5 separate regions of the Homo sapiens genome follow, and all the other regions are linked to region 1. Evidence: promoter capture Hi-C in human tissues and cell types (Jung and others, 2019). All regions are on one chromosome and are shown on one strand. The core of a region is centred on a gene start or on the middle of the fragment in contact, and the rest is flanking DNA. Distances in the headings are between cores, read along the strand shown.

Region 1 (3,826 bases), core at 208-2,707:
AAGACAACAATTTTACACAAGAAATTACTCACAATTATGAGAAATAGGACAAGCGCAGTGGCTCATGCCTGTAATCCTAGAACTTTGGGAGGCTCAGATAGAGAATCGCTTGAGCTCAGGAGTTCGAGACCAGCCTGGTCAACACAGTGAGACCTCGTCTCTACTAAATATTAAAAAAAATTAGCCAGGCCTGGTGGTGCACACCAGTAGTTCCAGCTATTCATGAGGCTGAGGCAGGAAGTTAAGCCCAGGAGTCTGAGGCGGCAGTGAGTTATGACAGTGCCACTGTACTCCAGCCTGGGCAACAGAGTGAGACCCTGTCTCAAAAAAAAAAAAAAAAATTAGGAGAAACGTTACAGAAAGTGTAGGAACTATATTAGAGGATATAACAGACAGGTAAGACTCAATTGCGCCCTGTCACATATGGCACATAATTTAGAATTACTTTTTTTTCTTTTTTTTTTAGAGACAAGGTCCCCCCACCCCAGGGCAGGATGCAGCGGCACGATCATGGCTCACTGCGGCCTCAAACTTCTGGGCTCAAGCAATCCTCCTACCTCAGCCTCCTGAGGAGCTGATACTATAGGTGTGCACCACCACGCCTGGCTTTTTTTTTAAGAGACAGGAGTCTCGCTATGTTGATCATGATGGTCATGAACTCCCGGGCTCAAACTATCCTTCCACCTACAGGTGTGGGCCACTGCTCCTGGCCAGGATTAATTACTTCTTAAATGAACTATGTACCCCAATTTTGAACAATGCAGCTCTGCTGGAAATGTCTGGGACTTAAGTAAAATGTGTAAAGCCATAACCTGATACACACTAGGCCCTCAAGAATAAATGTTAGTTATTTTCACTGGGTGCTGTGCCCCTCCAGAGAGAAACTGATTAGGTTTTGGATACTAATCCCCTAGCTCTAGGCCGCTAAGTAATACCAATCTAATAAGCATTTCAGAAATAAGTATAACAGGAAAGGAAGTAATATGTAATAAAAACATTCTGCATTTGCATCAAGGGTTTCCTCGAGATGTCGAGTATCATTATTCCCAATTTAAAGATGAAGTAACTGAGGCTCGAAAAGAAGAACAGGACCTAACAACATCGTACAGAAGTCCCAGCTCCAGGGCATCTGCTGGTCTTTCTCCACCCCTCCATAACTCTACAACCTTGGTCCAGAACAGGCCTCTGGGCCCCAGACCTCGGAGGGATTGAGCCTTTCCCAGAAGGCTTTGCAGCGCCGCGGAGAACTCTGGGATACAAATGGATACACAAATCCAAAGCAAAAGTCTAGACCTGGGCCCGAGAAACAGCCTCTTAAGCCCCCCAGGTGCCTTCTTCGGCTCGTTTGTGTGCTTACCTTTCCTGGAGCTCCCGCCATCGGGAGCCTCACTAAGCCCCGCAAAGGCTGGGAACAGCGCCATGACCACAGGCCGTACCTCCGTTCTTCTCTATAGGGATGGCGCCGGCGAGCGAGCGCCGGTCTGAGGACCCCTGCCGTCGCGGTGCACTCTGGGAAATGTGGTTTTCGCGGCGCTCTCTGGGGCTTGACCCCGAAGCGGGAGGGGCGGGGCCCAGAGAGGAGGGTCGTCAAGGGACTGGGGCGCGGCGGGGCAGGGAGAGGCAGGGCAAAGCAGGGTGGGGCGGGGCCAAGGGGGGCGGAGCGAGGAGTGACGGGTTCCTAGTGGTTGGGACCCTGTGAGAACCGGAACTGCGAAAACCGGAGAAGGGAATTGTTGACCGCGAAAGGGACTAAGGAAATTGGGATTCCAGTTCGACCCCTAAATTCACACCATCCTTGCTAACTGGGTCAACTTAAACGCTCTAAGCATTACTTTCCTTATCTGCAAAATATTGAGAAGATTAAATGAACATATTTATAAAGGGCCTAGCATTGAGTCCGGCCCATGAAAAGCACTTAATATGTGTTAGCTATTATGTGAATTACGACTGCAAGTTCGGCTCAAAGTCATGTGAGATATCCGAACTTCAATCAGGTTACCATATTAAATACCCCAGAACAAGGAAAAATGGAAAGTCCCATCAAGTTCAAGGGTCTTTGATAGTTAGGAAATACCTGTCTGTGAAGCATTCTTGACCCCGGTTCCTCCCACCCAAAATCTAATCACACTTGCTACCAGAAATATAGAGAGTAAAGGAACAACTTAGAAGACTTTGTACTACCAAGAAACAATTAGCCAAATCTAGAATATGGGAAATTATAGAAAACAACCGTGCTTCCTTAACATATCAAGGGCTTTAAGAGGGCAGGAGATTGTAATAGATACGAAGATCTTACAGACACATCAAGCAAATACAACATATTTGTGGCCTCATTATAATTCTGATTGGACAAACTGTAAAAAGACCTTTTTAAGATAGATGGAGAAATAAGAAGGTAGGCAGAGTACAAGCAATTCACAAGTAATTCTTGTGAATTCTGTTAGATGTACTAAAGTACTTATGTCACTGAGGTGACCCTTATTTATTTATTTTGAGACAAGGTCTCCTTCTGCCACCCAGGCTGGAGTGTAGTGGTACGATCTCTGCTCACTGCAGCTTCGAACTCCTCGATTCAAGCAATCCCCTCACCTCAGCCTCCCAAGTGGCTGGAACCACAGGCATACACCACCATGTCTGGCTTAATTTTTTTTTTTTTAATAGAGACAGGGTTTCACCATGTTGCCCAGGCTGGTCTCGAACTCCTGGGCTCAAGCGATCTGCCCCCCTCTGCCTCCCAAAGTGCTGGGTGCCTGTGCCTGAGCACCCCCCAACCCAGCCTGAGATTACTTTTTAAAGTTCTTATATATTAGAGATATATACTGAAATATTTGCAAGTGAAAATAGATAGGTAAATGAAGATATATTTATTGGGATCCTAGGGAGTTAAAGATCTTTAGTTAGGAAATACATTATAAACCAGAGATGCAAATGTAATCATCTAATCAAGGAATGGATGGACTCTGATGAAGTCTGCAGACCTGCATAAGAATTAGGTTCTATGAGTCCAAAATAGACACCCTTAATGCTTTGAAGTCCCTGGCAGAGTACTTACAAAAAGGAGCTTAGTATGACAATAGGGGCAGTAATTCCTGTATGTCTTCAACTTTAAATCTCAGGTTCTGCCAAAATCTTTGACTCTAAGTTACCTCAATTAATTGGGGCAGCATTTGTCTTTCTTAGCAGATCACTTCAGGTAACTGGGATGGAAATAGTCTATCCCAATGCCTCCTATCTTTCCACCCCAGAAAAGTAAGAATTAATATGGAAGTTTTAAGAAATTAAAACCATAATAATAATGTTTCTGTAATACAAAGGAATCTGGGTATACTAGGTATATTGTGTACTTACAAATGTATAAGAGAATGTTGCTCAAGAGACCCTCCTCATAAGAACAACTGAAAGTGTATAATCAAGTAACTGATACAGACTCCTGGTTTTAAGTTAAAATCTTTTTGTGTTTGTTTTGTTTTTGAGACAAGATCTCCTCTCTCGCCCAGGCTGGAGTGCAGTGGTGCGATCATGGCTCACTCCAGTCTCGACCATCTGCCTCAGCACCCCGAAGTGCTGGGATTATAGGTGTGAGCCACCATGGCCGGCAGTAAATTGAAATCTTAATGAGGTTTAAGCAGTTTCAGGATATCCAAGAGAATCTAAAGCTCGCCATATTTGTAAGTGTAATTGGTTAGCTTTATAAGAATAATGGGGTCCTATTGCAGGAGCATGAGGGAGGCTGAAGATTCCATTTCGAGGCAGCTCTGAGCTCACGAAATAGACACCATGAGCAAAGCTCACCCTCCCTAGTTGAAAAAAGCTTTTGGACAAGAAG
Region 2 (3,946 bases), core at 711-3,210, 740 kb after region 1:
GGCTCACACCTATAATCCCAGTACTTTGGGAGGCTGAGGCTGGCAGATCACAAGGTCAGGAGATAGAGACCATCCTGGCAAACACGGTGAAACCCCGTCTCTACTAAAAATACAAAAAAAAAAATTAGCAAGGTGTGGTGGCACGCGCCTGTATTCCCAGCTACTCAAGAGGCTGAGGCAGGAGAATGGTGTGAACTCAGGAGGCAGAGGTTGCAGTAAGCTGAGATTGCACCACTGCACTCCATCCTGGGCAACAGAGCGAGATTCCACCAAAAAAAAAAAAAAAAAAGAAGTCTAAAGGCTGTTGGCAGTCATTCTTGAGCATGAATTAACTCAAGAGTTTCCACATTCTTGAAAAAAAAGTTTTTTACGTTGAAATTATTCAACCAAGAGATTAATCAAAATAAAGAAATCAAGGAAGGAATTGAGGATTAAAAAAAATACTGAAGATGAGTTTTGAATTGTTTTAAATACAGAACCAAGAATAAATAGCTGTGGAATTTATGGTTAAAGAACAAAATGTAGGCTAGGCGTGGTGGCTCACGCCTATAATCCCAGCACTTTGGGAGGCCAAGGCGGGTGGATCACGAGGTCAGGAGTTTGAGACCAGCCTGGCCAATATGGTGAAACCCCGTCTCTACTGAAAACGCAAAAATTAGTTGGGCGTGGTGGTGGGTGCCTGTAGTCCCAGCTACTCAGGAGGCTGAGGCAGAAGAATCGCTTGAACCCAGGAGGCAGAGGTTGCAGTCAGCCAAGATCGCGCCACTGCACTCCAGCCTGGTAACAGAGTGAGACTCCATCTCAAAAAAAAAAAAAAGAACAAAATGTAAACATTCCAAACTCTTATACTGTGAACATAATTATACACCTAACAAAAATGGGGAAGTGAGGGGAAAGGGCAGTTGGAAGATTTCTAAGCATGTAAATTTACTCATCTTTAATGGCTGGAAAATAATCCAGTCTAAAAAATGAACTCCAGCCAGGCGTTGGGGCTCATGCCTACAATCCCAGCACTTTAGGAGGCCCAGGCAGGAGGATCGCTTGAGCCCACGAGTTCAAGATCAGCCTGGGCAACCTGGGGAAACCCCTTATCTACTAAAAATACAAAAAACTAACCAGGCATAGTGGCATGCACCTGTAATCCCAGCTACTCGGGAGGCTGAGGCACGAGAATCTCTTGAATGTGGGAGTTGGAGGTTGCAGTGAGCTGAGATCACACCACTGCACTCCAGCGTGAGCAACAGAATGAGACTCTGTCTCAAAAAAAAAAAAAAGAACTCCATGAACTGCAGCTTTTTAAAACAGACACGATTCTAATTTCTTGATGATTTTTGTGTTCGTTTTTTCTTATCTTTAAGGGGATTATTTTAGGAATTTTTGTGGTTTACAAACATTTAGCTGAAGTTCAGCAATTATTTCTATTTTACTTAATTTCTGTTTTCTGTAAAATTAAACTTAATTTTACTTAAAAATAATTTGCAGAATAAAATTCCATTGTTATCTATTGATCTTTTTGCTCTGCATGCCCAAATTCAGATGACATATACCAAATATTGATGGCTGTTTCCAGAAAGTGAGATTTGAGACACCAAAAAAAAAAACAAAAAACAAAACTTCCTCATGGTGCTTTCTAAAGCTTTTTAGAAAAGCTCATTCTATATAAAACTAACAGTCATTGCCAGGTGCGGTGGCTCATGCCTGTAATCCCAGCACTTTGGGAGGCCGAGGCGGGCAGATCACGAGGTCAGGAGATCAAGACCATGGTGAAACCCTGTCTCTACTAAAAATACAAAAAATTAGCTGGGCACGGTGGCGGGCGCCTGTCGTCCCAGCTACTCGGGAGGCTGAGGCATGAGAATGGCATGAACCCGGCAGGCAGAGCTTGCAGTGAGCCAAGATCATGCCACTGCACTCCAGCCTGGGTGACAGCAAAAAAAATAAAAAACATAAAATAAAAATAACAGTCATTTTTCTTGAGTAGTGTGGAATAGAAGGATAAGATGGAAGATGGCTCCCATGCCTTTTGTCACCAGGTGTTACACCCATGATTATGTGATTTATGTGGTGAAAAGGATTTTGCAGATGTCATAAAAGTTAATTACAGGCCAGGTGCAGTGGTTCATGCCTAGCACTTTGAGAGGCTGAGGCGGATGGATTGCCTGAGCTCAGGAGTTCGAGACCAGCCTGGGCAACATGGATAAACCCCATCTCTACTAAAAGTTCAAAAATTAGCCAGGTGTGATGGCACACGCCTGTAGTCCCAGCTACTCAGGAGGATGAGGCACGAGAATTGCTTAAACCTGGGAGGCAGAGGTTGGAGTGAGCCAAGATCGTGCCACTATACTCCAGCCTGGGCGACAGAGTGAGATTCCATCTCAAAAAAATTTTTTAAAAATTAACTCTGTCATCCAGGCTAATGTTTGTGTTTTTAGTAGAGATTTTTGTATTTTTAGTAGAGACAGGGTTTTGCCATATTGGCCAGGCTGGCCTCAAACTCCTGACCTCAAGTGATCCATCCCCGTCGGGATTACAGGTGTGAGCCACCGCTCCTGGCTGCATGAAAAATCTTTAATGCAAAAGGGTTATCTGGTTGCTGGCTTTGAAAATGGAGGGGACCAAGTGGAAAGGCCCTGAGGAGCAGCCTCTAGGAGTTAAGAGCCGCTCCCTTGCCAACAACCAACAAGGAAACAAGGACCTCAGCCCTACACCTTCAAGAACCTGCAAGGCAGAAGGATCACTTGAACCCAGGAGTTCGAGGCTGCAGTGAGCTATGACCGTCTTACTGCATAAGATAAATTGAAGATAAATGAAGTTAGCAAGGCCAAGGTGGGAGAATCGTGTGAGGCCAGGAGTTTAAGACCAGCCCGGGCAATATAGCAAACCCCCATCTCTACAAAAAAATTTAAAAATTGCCTGGCACGGTGGCTCACACCTATAATCCCAGCACCTTGGGAAGTAGAGGTGGGCAGATTGCTTGATCCCAGGAGTTTGAGACCAGGCTGGGCAACATAATGAGACCTCATCTCTACCAAAAAAAAAAAATATATATATATATACACACACACACACACACACACACACACACACACACACACACAGTCAAGCACCTGTATTCCCAGCTACTTGGGAGGCTGAGGTGGGAAGATCACATGAGCCTAGGAGGCCAAGTCTGCAGTGAGCTGTGATTGTGCCATGCACTCCAGCCTGGGCAACTGAGCGATACCCTGTCTCAAAAAAAAAAAAAAAAAAATATATATATATATATATAAACCGAGTGTGATGGCATGTACCTATAGTCCTAGCTACTTAGAAGGCTGAGGTGGGAGGATCACTTGAACCCAGGAGTTCGAGGCTGCAGTGAGCTATGATGTGGTCTCATTGGACTCTAGCCTGGGTGACAGAGTGAGAACCTGACTCAAAAAAACAAAAAAAGAATGAAGGTAACAGCATCTTTGTTCTTCAGACAGATTCTCTCTGACATCTACCTCCCAATTTCTGCCCCATATAATTTTATGGCTAAAAAACATTTACCTTCTATTCTTAACCATAATTAAGTATTCCACAGACTGACCGTAAAACATGAAAATCACTTAAACAGCATTTATTAGGTTGGTGCAAAAGTAATTGTCATTTTTGCCATTGAAAGTAATGGCAAAAACCATATTGCAGTATTCTCTAATATTATTTTCTCTGAAGAGGCAAAATGTTTATAAGAATTGCTCTTCTTGGCTGGACATGGTGGCTCATGCCTGTAATCCCAGCACTTTGGGAGGCTGAGGCTGGCAGATCACCTGAGTTCAGGAGTTCAAGACCAGCCTGACCAACATGGAGAAACCCCATCTCTACTAAAAATACAAAATTAGCCGGGTGTGGTGGCGCATGCCTGTAATCCCAGCTATTCAGGAGGCTGAGGCAGGAGAATTGCTTGAACCCAGGAGGTGGAAGT
Region 3 (3,441 bases), core at 48-2,547, 540 kb after region 1:
TCTCTAAAGAATGTCACAATTTGGAGTGAAGTTACTTAACAAAACAGGGAATAAAACCTTTAATGTTGGCTGTAGCAGTTATTTTCTTTGGGTAGATTATACTTAAAATATTTCCTTCATACATACTTCTGTTAAAATTTTTTTTTCCCATTCTTGAGTTTTACAATGTCTCCTATCCAAACTTCAAATTTCATTAGAGCCGGCTACATTTGTTTTAGTGCCAGATACAGGTATCAAGTGATGACAGACACTTACGTGAGGTATACAATCAATTAAAGACTGGAAATTGGGGTATTATCATGTAAGACATTTGAGAGGCCAAAAGTCATATAATTTTAAGATACTTCATGATGTTACAGTAATAATTCATCTATATAACAATTATTTTGACATAAGTGGCATATCAGAATTTAACTTATTTACTTAGATCTTAAGGAATATTAGATGTATTCTCACATGAACACTCAAATCATGCTATTATTATCAGTCACTGGGAGAACAGCCAAAGTAATCAGGCAGTCTAAGGCACATATAGACCCAATAATTTAGAAATTTTCACCATTATGAGGTACCCTGTTTTTAATAAATATGACAATAACAGGCGCTTGAAATGGGGGCAAGGTGAATAAGTATCCAGTCAATTGTATACTTTTATAAAGTAGTGTATTTGAGAACATAAACTGAGATACAAAAGGAATTTCCTTACTTTAAAAAAAGTGACTTCTATCTTAGTAGATTTCTTTAAAATAACTTACCTTATATTTAAAAGTTAGTCATTTACATACTTAAGAAATCAACAGTAATCTAAAAAAATTAAAAGGCAGTTTTCTTGGGTAATGAACCTGTGACTCCAAGACAGACAACAATGTGGAAATTAACTCAGGAGACTGACTTTCTATTCTAGTAATTCAGTGGTTTCTTACTTTATAAAGGTTTGGAAGAATTAATGAATTTCTTTTTTTCTTAAGACAGGGTCTCGCTCTGTTGCCCAGGCTGGAGTGCAGTGGTGTGATCACAGCTCACTGCAGCCTCGAACTCCTGGGCTCAAGCGATCCTCCACATGTTGGCCTCCCATGAGCCACCATGCTCAGCTAATTTTTATTTTTATTTTTGGAGAGACAGTGTCTCACTATGTTGCCCAGGTTGGTCTCTAACTCCTGGTTTCAAGTGATTCTCCAGTCTTATACTCCCAAAGCACAAGGATTACAGGCCTGAGCCACCACACTCAGCCAATCAATTTCAAAATGCTAATTAACCTCTTTCAGACACACGATCTGGCAGAGTAATTAGAAGAAACTGGTCTTTCTTAACATCTTTCCTCTATTATCTTCCTTTTCTTATTCTTGCCTCTCAATTTGTCATATACAGTTACAAAATATATGAATCAGGATTTATGTTGGCATGAAAATTATATGCAATACAATCAGTAAGTGAAGAAGGGAGGGGGTGGTGTGGCTCTAGTCCCAAAGTTAATGTCATAAGGAGAAATAATGTAAGTATTTGTATTTCTTAGATCTTCTTCTATTTTACTCTTAATACCAAAAAAAGAGTCCTATCATTTAACTTTTTATATATTTTGTAGTGTTTATTTTTGATGTGACCAAATGAAAGCTTTCTGAATTTTAAAGTGCAATTCACTGTATGTTAATACACAGCCTGCATAGGACCTAACTGCTTCAAACTTGGCATCAAATGCTGTCTTTTTGGTACTTATAAGTAGGGTGTAGATAAAGATATTTGACAAGAGTGCAACAGTGTTTGTTAAGGTCTTTTCAAAAGCCCATTTGAGATTATTCAGGCAGGCTCATCAGTTGACAGCTAGCCTATCTTTCCTTCTTCCTGTTAGTCTGACTGCCTTTTTACCCATTTCATCGCCTGTCGAATCCTCCTCAAGAAGAGGCAAGGGAAATAAATGAAAATGAAACCCATTAATTTCCAATATTCACAATGAAATCAATCACATCATCAATCTGTATACTGTCTGACCATTTTTCTGGATCATTTTCTATTAGCAACATAGTCCCTTTAGTTTGTACTTTATAACTAGTATTTTCTACCAGGATGCACAGTTTAAAAAATGGCTTGAAGAGCCAAATATGTTCCCAATATGTCCAATATAATTATAAATATGGTCATTTTCTTGATTACTAGAGATCTGTGCCTGATGGAATCACATTTTGTGAATTAGCAATAGTTTGGTAATAATTCACACAAAATTTCCCATAATTACTAGGAATAACTGAAAGCTGGGAGTAGAAAACTTTCATTAACTCAATATTATGTAGCCATTTGGGCCAGCAAAAAGTGTAAAATATTATTCCCAATAACCACTGTGGACAAAATGTGAACAGGATAATATAATATTTTGAAAATATTTTAATATTTGCCATTTTTTGCCTGTGCTATTAATATATACATTGATTTAGTAATAAATATACTACTATTACATAGAGTGCAATATTTTTAGTATTCATAACTGGTTGAAATTAATGCTGCTATAACCTCAAGAAAGGAATAAATAAATATCATGTCCAAATTCCAAACTAATGCTCAAAAGGTTATCATTAACAAAAACTATAAAATAAACATGTTGGGCATTATCTCTTTAAGCATGATTCCTGTAAACAAAGCAAAAAAATCACTTTTCTCAGTCCTGACATTTCACATGATGGCTTTAAAAGAAAATATAACACACAAACCCTATCACTTCTTTTTTTTTTTTTTTTTTTTTTGCATAGGGAACGAATTAATTGTATTTTTAAATGCAGCAATCTTTTAATGAAATGTTTTCATCACATAGTACTTGTTTTCTGTATGAATTCAGAACTTTTGAGCAATAAAAGTGCTCTGCATAAGTTTATAAAATATGCTTTCTGGATTTAAAATTTAACAGAAAAATTTCCAAACAAGTCATAGGTATGATTCTAAAATATTATGTACATAATATATGACTACAGGAGGAAATTCCTCACTGTAGTACAACACAGTGTACAAATATGAAGCACAGTGTTTAGTTTAATTTCCCTTTAGGTTTTCCTCACATTGGTGCATAAGTGGCTGACTACATGACACAACATGCCCCATTCTACTTGTTGCATACAAAGTAGAAGAGGAATGTGAGGACAAATTTAAAGTAGAAAATGAAAATAAATGGCAAAAATACAGTGCAAATGCTTTAAACAGTGCACTTTATAAAATAGTTTGCTTTATTCATACTTTTTTATAAAGTGCAATATTACTTAAAACAGAGAGACATGTACCTTAATATTCTGCAATAACCATTAAAACAAATTGCCAGGAAAGAGCAGTGCAAAATTAAAAACATACACATAGCTTAGCATGCATCTCAGATGGATCCCGAATACAGAGTATGGGACCTTGAGTTCTTATATCTTTTTTTTTTTTTTTCACTTTTTAGAAAAAGTTTAATAATAGCAGGTT
Region 4 (3,917 bases), core at 733-3,232, 580 kb after region 1:
TTGCTTTTCTGCAGATGGCATGCATTCTCATGGGTTGTTTATTTATTTCTATTTGTCCTCCATTTAAAAGTTCACAATCTTTTCCATTTCATGACTTAACGTTCTTGACTTTCACTTCCTGGTTCCCATGTGGTCCCAGAATTATAAAATTATTTATGTGCCTGCCTGAGTTAGAAACAGCTCTCAGTAAGCTTCACTTACTCTACATTTTTGTCCAACACTAGGGGAAAAGTGAAACATATTATGGTGTATCCACTCAATAGTACATTAAGCAGCCATTACAAAATTATGTTTACAGAGAGTTTTCTAATTAGAGAACAAAATGTTTACGACATAAATTTCAGCAAAAACTGAAAAATACAAAATTATATTTCTAGTATGAGTACAACATTATACAAGTAAAAAAGAATAAAACATAATATACCAAAACATTAATAGTATATGTCTCTGCGTGTTATTATTGACTCTTTACCCCATATGCGTATCTTAAACTATAATGAACATGACATTTAGAGTGGGAACAATAAAATGAGTTTCGCTTACAAGATCACGAACCCAATGGCAGGAGTACACAGAGTGGCAAGGAGGCAATGGAGTCCTGAACCTCCCATGTGCCACTGGGGGTACTTCCCCACCATCTTTTCTCTTCTACCCAACCCAGTCCGCATCTCCATCATGAATGCTTCCCTGACAGCCCACCCCCAGGGAACCAAACCTCCTTTGTCCTCCCCCAGCATTCTTCTTACCTAAAAGCACTCAGACATTTGTCAAAACTCCCTGATACTATGAATTTTCATGTATTTATTCCATATCCTCCCAAATGCTATATAAATAAATGTTCTTAGGACAAGGACTTTACCCTCTATTTCTCTTTCTCCTTAGGAGTAAAGAATTATTCAACAAATAGTCCACTGATTAATGAAATCAATTCCCTGCAGTCCGTGGGCCAGTACTTCCCAGTCTTTTACCTGAAATAAGCACCTGCCAGACTTGGAAAGAAAACAGCAGCATGGAAACAAGTGATACCCGTGAAGACAGCATGGAGTAACTTTCCAGTAACTCTGTATTTGATCCCAGTCCAACCTCACAGTAGCATTGAGTCCCAGGCAAGTTACATCCTAGTTTCTTCATCTGTAAAACTGCATATGCTACCACTTATTTTTCAGGGTTCTGAGGATTCCAGAATACAATGTGGGTGACTTCTCAGCACAGAGGCTGGCACACAGCGGTCCCCAGGTGAACGGTGCTGTTGATGTCACTCTATAGTAGTCTGTCTTCCTTTAGCTATGAGACAGGCTGTCACTTCACTTTTGGTGTTACTGAGTTCTTCCTTGATCCACTTAACCTGTGTTTCCCTAGGCCACACCAGCCAGGTCATTAATAATAATAAATTGAGATTATTTGGCTGGTATCCTTATCTGCTTCTGTGGAATCTGTGACTGCACTCAAAAGTCTCACCCACCCAGTAACTCTGGGAGTCGTCCCCAGGGCATGTCTTATGTAAGCTATAAATACTCTTCTTCACTGTCACATAAAGCATCTTTTTTTTTTTTTTTTTTTTTTTTTGGGTGGAGTCTCCCTCTGTTGCCCAGGCTGGAGTACACTGGTGCAATCTTGGCTCACTGCAACCTCCGCCTCCTGAGTTCAAGTGATTCTCCTGCCTCAGTCTCCCGAGTAGCTGGGATTACAGGCACTCGCCACCACGCCCAGCTAATTTTTGTATTTTTAGTAGAGACGAGGTTTCACCATGTTGGCCAGGCTGGTCTCGAACTCCTGACCTCAAGTGATCCACCCTCCTTAGCCTCCCAAAGTGCCAGGATTATAGGCGTGTGAGCCACTGCGGCCGGCCACATGAAGCATCTTATTTCCCTCTTCTGCCCAGTACACTAACCAGGTCTCCTACTACACTGCTGGGAAGCCATCTGAGAGGTGCACACTCCGGCCATTGCTTCTGGGACTGAAGGAAAAAACTTGTTTCTTTTACAAAGTTAGGGGAACCAAAGATGAATGCATGATACTGCAAAGATTTTGCTGAAAAGAGCTTTCTTTTTAATTTATAGCATCTTCTATCTAAAAGTGATAGATATTGCCAAAAATTGCCCTTCCTCTCAATGGCTAAGGCTTCCTTAGTGAACCAAACTGGTCTGCTGGAGGTCCTCACCGCTCTTGTACAGTTAGATTGTTGGTGGAGCTACTAGACTGGCTTGTTAGACGTGCCTGGAAGTGTCTTAAATAAGATTTAAAAGTTACTTAGTATGACTTTTATCGCCAGACCTCTTCCTGTCTCTCTTCCTTTGTACACTTTTTTTTCTGTAGCCCACACAATGCTGTTAAACCTTTACTTCTCCAATCATTCCATGATGGCCCTTAGACTACCTTTCCCTAACAGGGGGAAGATGATAGTGATGGAAGAGAGTGGTAAACTCAGACCTTGGGGGTTCCTTGGAGCCAAGTGGCTGCATGTGACAATAAAACTAAGACACTCAGAAGCAGACTTCAATGCAAGGAATTCCAAAGAGAAAGCTAAACTGAAAAGAGCTAGAGGCAGAGAGCAGCAGTCAGACTATAGAGACAAGATTATCACCCAAAATGATGAGACCTTCTTTGGGAGGCCATGGAGAACCATGAGTACATGAGAAACAGCAGGTGATCCAGAGACCAAAATGTGTGACAGAGTCGTGAACACAGAAAACTACCTTCTTCCTTTCACGGCCCTTTCCAGTATGTATGAGGCTGACCTTTTAGACTCTGGGTTGACTGTAGCAGTAGAGAACTGGCTGGGGTGGTGCACAGAGGTGGCGGCAAAGAATCTACACTGCAGCATCATCAGGGAAACAACAGAGGGCCAGGTCTCCGGTGAGAGACTAAGAAGGCCTGGGAAATGATAGGCAGACTGATGATGTTTCTGATGGACCTTTTCCACAGTTGGAAGAATGATCCCTAGGGTTTTTTTTTTTTTTTTTTTTTTGAGATGGAGTTTCACTCTTTCACAACAGGTTGGAGTGCAGTGGTGCAATCTCGGCTCACTGCAACCTCCGCCCCCAGGGTTCCAACGATTCTCCTGCCTCAGCCTCCTGAGTAGCTGGAATTACAGGCACCCATCACCATGCCCAGCTAATTTTTTAATCTTTAGTAGAGATGGGGTTTTGCCATGTTGGCCAGGCTGGTCTCAAACTCTTGACTTCAGGTGATCCACCTGCCTTGGCCTCCCCAAGTGCTAGGATTACAAGCGTGAGCCACTGCACCTGGCCTATCCCTAGGTTTTTATTCAGGACTCCAAATGCTCCACCCCGCTAGGGAGTGCCTCAGAGCAATTAATAACAAAGTATGATTCACCCCAACAGGTTGTAGAGTGAAGCAGTGCAAAACAAATGAAGAAAGGAAAGAAGATGCAGAGCTGAGGAGTATAAGTGCCAAGGGAAGGGCCATGTCACCCTGTCCTCTCCTTGCCATCCCCTCCTGCTGCTGGACTCTAGTCCGGAGCTGCTGCAATTGCCTCGTGTAGACGAATGTGTAGATGAGTAGCTACTGTGACAAACTTTAAAAAGTTTTTGGTTAACTAGTCAAAAAACCCTGGGAAACATAGATGCTCATATTGGGTACAGAAATACCCAAAATGAGGAAGAAAAGAATAAACCCCCAGCAAACTGAGAATCAAGGAGGCTTTATAAAATATGCCAAGAAAGGATTTTATCATAAAGACCTAAGAAAGCCAAGAAAGATAATACATTTGATTTCTTCTTAAAACAGGGTAAAAAAAAAGATACTTGTAGTTACTCTATACATGACTCCAAAAGCAACATATCTCAAAATTAATTACCTAGACCAAGGGTTGGCAATCTTTTTTGTAAAGGGCTCATGGTAGGCAGACTTTGAAGATGGCCCCAATGATCACTGTATATTTGCATTCACAGCCT
Region 5 (3,716 bases), core at 638-3,137, 720 kb after region 1:
GTAATTCCAGCCATTTGGGAGGTCGAGGCAGGTGGAGCACGTGAGGTCAGGAGTTCCAGACCAGCCTGGCCAACATAGCGAAACCCCACCTCTACCAAAAAATACAAAAATAAGCTAAGCGTGGCGGTGTGTGGTGGCACACACTTGTAGTCCCAGCTACTTGGGAGGCTGAGGTGGGAGGATCACTTGAACCCAGGAGGCAGTGGTTGCAGTGAGCTGAGATCACGCCATTGCACTCCAGCCTGAGCGACAGAGTGGGACCCTGTCTAAATAAAAATAAATAAATAAATAAATAAATAAATAAATAAATAAATAAAGTAAATCACTAGCCGGGAATGGTGGCTCATACCTGTAATCTCCACACTTTGGGAGGCAGAGATGGGAAGACTGCTTGAGCCCAGGAGTTCAAGACCAGCCTGGGCAACATAGTGAGATTCTGTCTCAATAAAATGAAATTTTAAAATACAACAACAATAAAGTAAATCACCACTCTGGACTTTTTATCATGAAACATCCTTTTATTTTTTTATTTTTTTGAGACAGAGTTTTGCTGTTGTTGCCCAGGCTGGAATGCAATGGTGCGATCGCAGCTCACTGCAACCTCCGCCTCCCAGGTTCAAGCAATTCTCCTGCCTCAGCTTCCAAGTAGCTGGGATTACAGGTGCCCGCCACCGTGCCCAGCTAAGTTTTTGTATTTTTACTAGAGATGGGGTTTCACCATGTTGGCCAGGCTGGTCTCGAACTCCTGACCTCAGGTGATCCACCTGCCTCGGCCTCCCAAAGTGCTGGGATTACAGGCATGAGCCACCATGTCTGGCCGAAAGATTTAAAAAAAAAAGAAAAAGCTCACCCAAACCAACTAGGAATAGAAGAGAACTTTGTCAACCTGAGAAAGAACATCTATGAAAAACTCACAGCTAACTTCATACTCAGTGGTAGAAGACTAAAGCCTTCCCCCTAGGATCGGGAAAAGACAAGGAACTAACTTTGTCTATACCAGAATTTCCATGGAAATGCCACAGAAGAGCTTTAATGCTCGTAAATACTTTGATTATAACTCAGTCCATCACCTTTACTTTATGAATCAAAAAACTTGGGCTCAGAAAGGCAAAATGACTTATCCCAGGTCATATAGCAAATTAGGGGCTGACTTAGAACTACAGTCCACTCCCTACCTCTGTTAAATCTTTACTTAAGGCCAGATGCAGTGGCTCATGCCTGTAATCCCAGCACTTTGGGAGGCCCAGGCAGATGGATCATCTGAGGTAAGGAGTTCAAGACCAGCCTGGCCAACATGGCAAAACCCCATCTCTACTAAAAAAAAAAAAAAAAAAAAAAAAAAAAAAAAATTACCTGGGTATGGTAGTGGGTGCCTGTAATCCCAGCCACTTGGGAGGCTGAGGCAGGAGAATCACTTGAACCCAGGAGGCGGAGGTTATAGTGAGCCGAGATCAGCACCACACTCCAGCCTGGGCAACAGAGTAGACTCGTCTCTTAAAAAAAAAAAAAAAAAAACAGATTTACTTAAGAGATTGTAAATATGGATACCACTAATCAAATAGATAAGATCTTTAGGCAAGCGCGGTGGCTCAAGCCTGTAATCCCAGTACTTTGGGAGGCCAAGGCGGATGGATCATGAGGTCAGGAGATCGAGACCGTCCTGGCTAACACGATGAAACCCCGTCTCTACTAAAAGTACAAAAAAAAAAAAAAGTTAGCTGGGCGTGGTGGCAGGTGCCTGTAGTCCCAGCTACTTGGGAGGCTGAGGCAGGAGAAATGGCGTGAACCCAGGAGGCAGAGCTGGCAGTGAGCAGAGTTCGCGTCACTGTACTCCAGCCTGGGAACAGAGCGAGACTCCATCTCCAAAAAAAAAAAAAAAAAAAAAGCTCTTTAGTTGGTGACAGAACTCAATCAAGAATATTTTGGGGAGACTAGACAGAGGTATCACCAAAAAAGAACACTACAAAGATTTCTTATGGATATAGATACAAATCCTTAATAAAATACAAGCAAACTGAATCCAGCAACAAAGAAAAAGGATTATATACCATGACAAACAAGATTTATCCCAGGAATACAAGGTTGGCTTAACATTCAAAAGTTAATTAATGTAATACACCATATGAACAGAACAAAAAAAATGGTCATCTTAATAGATGCAGAAAAAAGCATCTGACAAAATCCAGCACTCTTTCATGATTTAAAAAAACACCCAAACTAGGAGGAGAAGTGAAATTCTTCAATTTGATAAAATACATCTATGAAAAACCCATAGCTAACCCCATACTCAGTGGTAGAAGACTAAAGCTTTCACCCTAGGATCAGGAATAAGACAAGGATGTCTGCTCTTGCAAGTTCTATTGAACCATAGTGAAGGTTCTGGCCAAGGCAATTAAGCAGGAAATTGAAACAAAAGATATCTGGATTGGAAAGAAAGAAGTAAAATTATCTCTATCCATGGCTAACACAATCTTATAAATAGAAAATCCTAAGGTGTCCACTAAACTATTAGAACCAATAAACTAGTTCACCAAGGTTGCAGGACACAAGGTAAAAACTGTACCTCTATACTCTTGGAATGAACAATCCAAAAATAAAAGTAAGAAACTAGTTCCTTTTACTATAGCATCAAAAAATAAATAAATAATAAAATACTTAGAAATAAATTTAACAAAAGTGCAAATTTATACTCCTTAAACGGAAAAACGTTGTTGAAAGTAATTGAAGACAACCTAAATAAATGGAAAGACATCTCATGTTCATAGATCAGACGACTTAACATTGCTAAGATGGCAACACTGCCAAAGTTTAACTAAAAATTCAATGAGATCCCTATCAGAATGCCACTGAGTTGGCTTCTTTGCAGACACTAACAAGCTGATCCTAGAATCCATATGGAAATACAAGGAATCCAGAATAACCAAAACAATGTTGAAGAATAAGACTCACACTTCTCAATTTCAAAACTTACTAAAAAACTGTAGTAGTCAAGACAGCATGGTACTGCTATAAGGAGAGACATATAGATCACTGGAAGAGAACTGAGAGTATAAAATAAATAAACCCATACATCTATAGTCAACTGATTTTCAATAAGGGTGCCAAGACATTAAAATGGAGAAAAAAATAGTCTTTTCAGCTAATGGTGCTGGAACAATTGGATATTTACATGCAGAAGAATGAGTCTGAATCACTACCTCACATGATATCCAGCAATTACCTTAAAATGGATCAATGATCTAAATGTAACAGCTAAAGCCATAAACTCTTAGAAGAAAACAGAGACATCAATCTTCATAATCTTGAATTAGTCAATGATTTCTTAGACACAAGAATAAAATGAAAAAGAAAAAAAAAAGGTTTCATCAACATTAAAGACTTTTAGGGCCAGGAGCGGTGGCTCACACCTGTAATCCCAACACTTTGGGAGGCTGAGGCAGGTGGATCCCTTGAGGACAGGAGTTCAAGATCAGCCTGGCCAACATGGTGAAACCTCGTCTCTATTGAAAATACAAAAATTAGCCAGGCATGGTGGCACTCGCCTGTAATCCTAGCTACTCAGGGGGCTGAAGCATGAGAATTGCTGGAACCCAGGAGGCAGAGGTTGCAGTGAGGCAAGATCATGCCACTGCATTCCACCTGGGCAACACAGCAAGACTCTGTCTCAGAAAAAAAAAAAAAAAAAATTAAAGACTTTTAGGCCAGGCACAGTGGCT

What was found. The method cuts DNA at HindIII sites, captures the fragments that hold promoters and counts their contacts. A contact is called where the count stands out against the background at its distance.
Region 2: a contact is called between a fragment that was not itself captured here and the fragment with the promoter of NRDE2 in region 1, in 2 of the 25 tissues and cell types used here (dorsolateral prefrontal cortex and mesenchymal stem cells).
Region 3: a contact is called between a fragment that was not itself captured here and the fragment with the promoter of NRDE2 in region 1, in 1 of the 25 tissues and cell types used here (dorsolateral prefrontal cortex).
Region 4: a fragment that was not itself captured here is called in contact with the fragment with the promoter of NRDE2 in region 1 in 2 of the 25 tissues and cell types used here (dorsolateral prefrontal cortex and hippocampus).
Region 5: a contact is called between a fragment that was not itself captured here and the fragment with the promoter of NRDE2 in region 1, in 1 of the 25 tissues and cell types used here (hippocampus).

The regions. Positions count from the first base shown.
Region 1 is chr14:90,330,484-90,334,309 of GRCh38, forward strand. NRDE2 (NRDE-2, necessary for RNA interference, domain containing) reads right to left here and starts at 1,458. Exons shown (of 14, transcript NM_017970.4): 1 at 1,358-1,458. The coding sequence starts at 1,421. RefSeq lists an enhancer at 1,212-1,391 and a silencer at 1,542-1,691. The HindIII fragment of the contact is 6,388 bases long and covers 1-3,826 here.
Region 2 is chr14:91,071,064-91,075,009 of GRCh38, forward strand. It overlaps a transcript of DGLUCY not described here. Among named protein-coding and RNA genes, the nearest start is that of RPS6KA5, 12 kb to the left of the region's middle. The HindIII fragment of the contact is 9,066 bases long and covers 1-3,946 here.
Region 3 is chr14:90,868,096-90,871,536 of GRCh38, forward strand. It overlaps RPS6KA5 (ribosomal protein S6 kinase A5), which reads right to left. Exons shown (of 17, transcript NM_004755.4): 17 at 1-3,441. Among named protein-coding and RNA genes, the nearest start is that of LINC02321, 42 kb to the left of the region's middle. The HindIII fragment of the contact is 3,292 bases long and covers 1-2,943 here.
Region 4 is chr14:90,911,364-90,915,280 of GRCh38, forward strand. The region is part of intron 7 of RPS6KA5 (ribosomal protein S6 kinase A5); the gene reads right to left. Among named protein-coding and RNA genes, the nearest start is that of LINC02321, 85 kb to the left of the region's middle. The HindIII fragment of the contact is 8,995 bases long and covers 1-3,917 here.
Region 5 is chr14:91,050,970-91,054,685 of GRCh38, forward strand. The region is part of intron 1 of RPS6KA5 (ribosomal protein S6 kinase A5); the gene reads right to left. Among named protein-coding and RNA genes, the nearest start is that of RPS6KA5, 7.8 kb to the right of the region's middle. The HindIII fragment of the contact is 3,602 bases long and covers 87-3,688 here.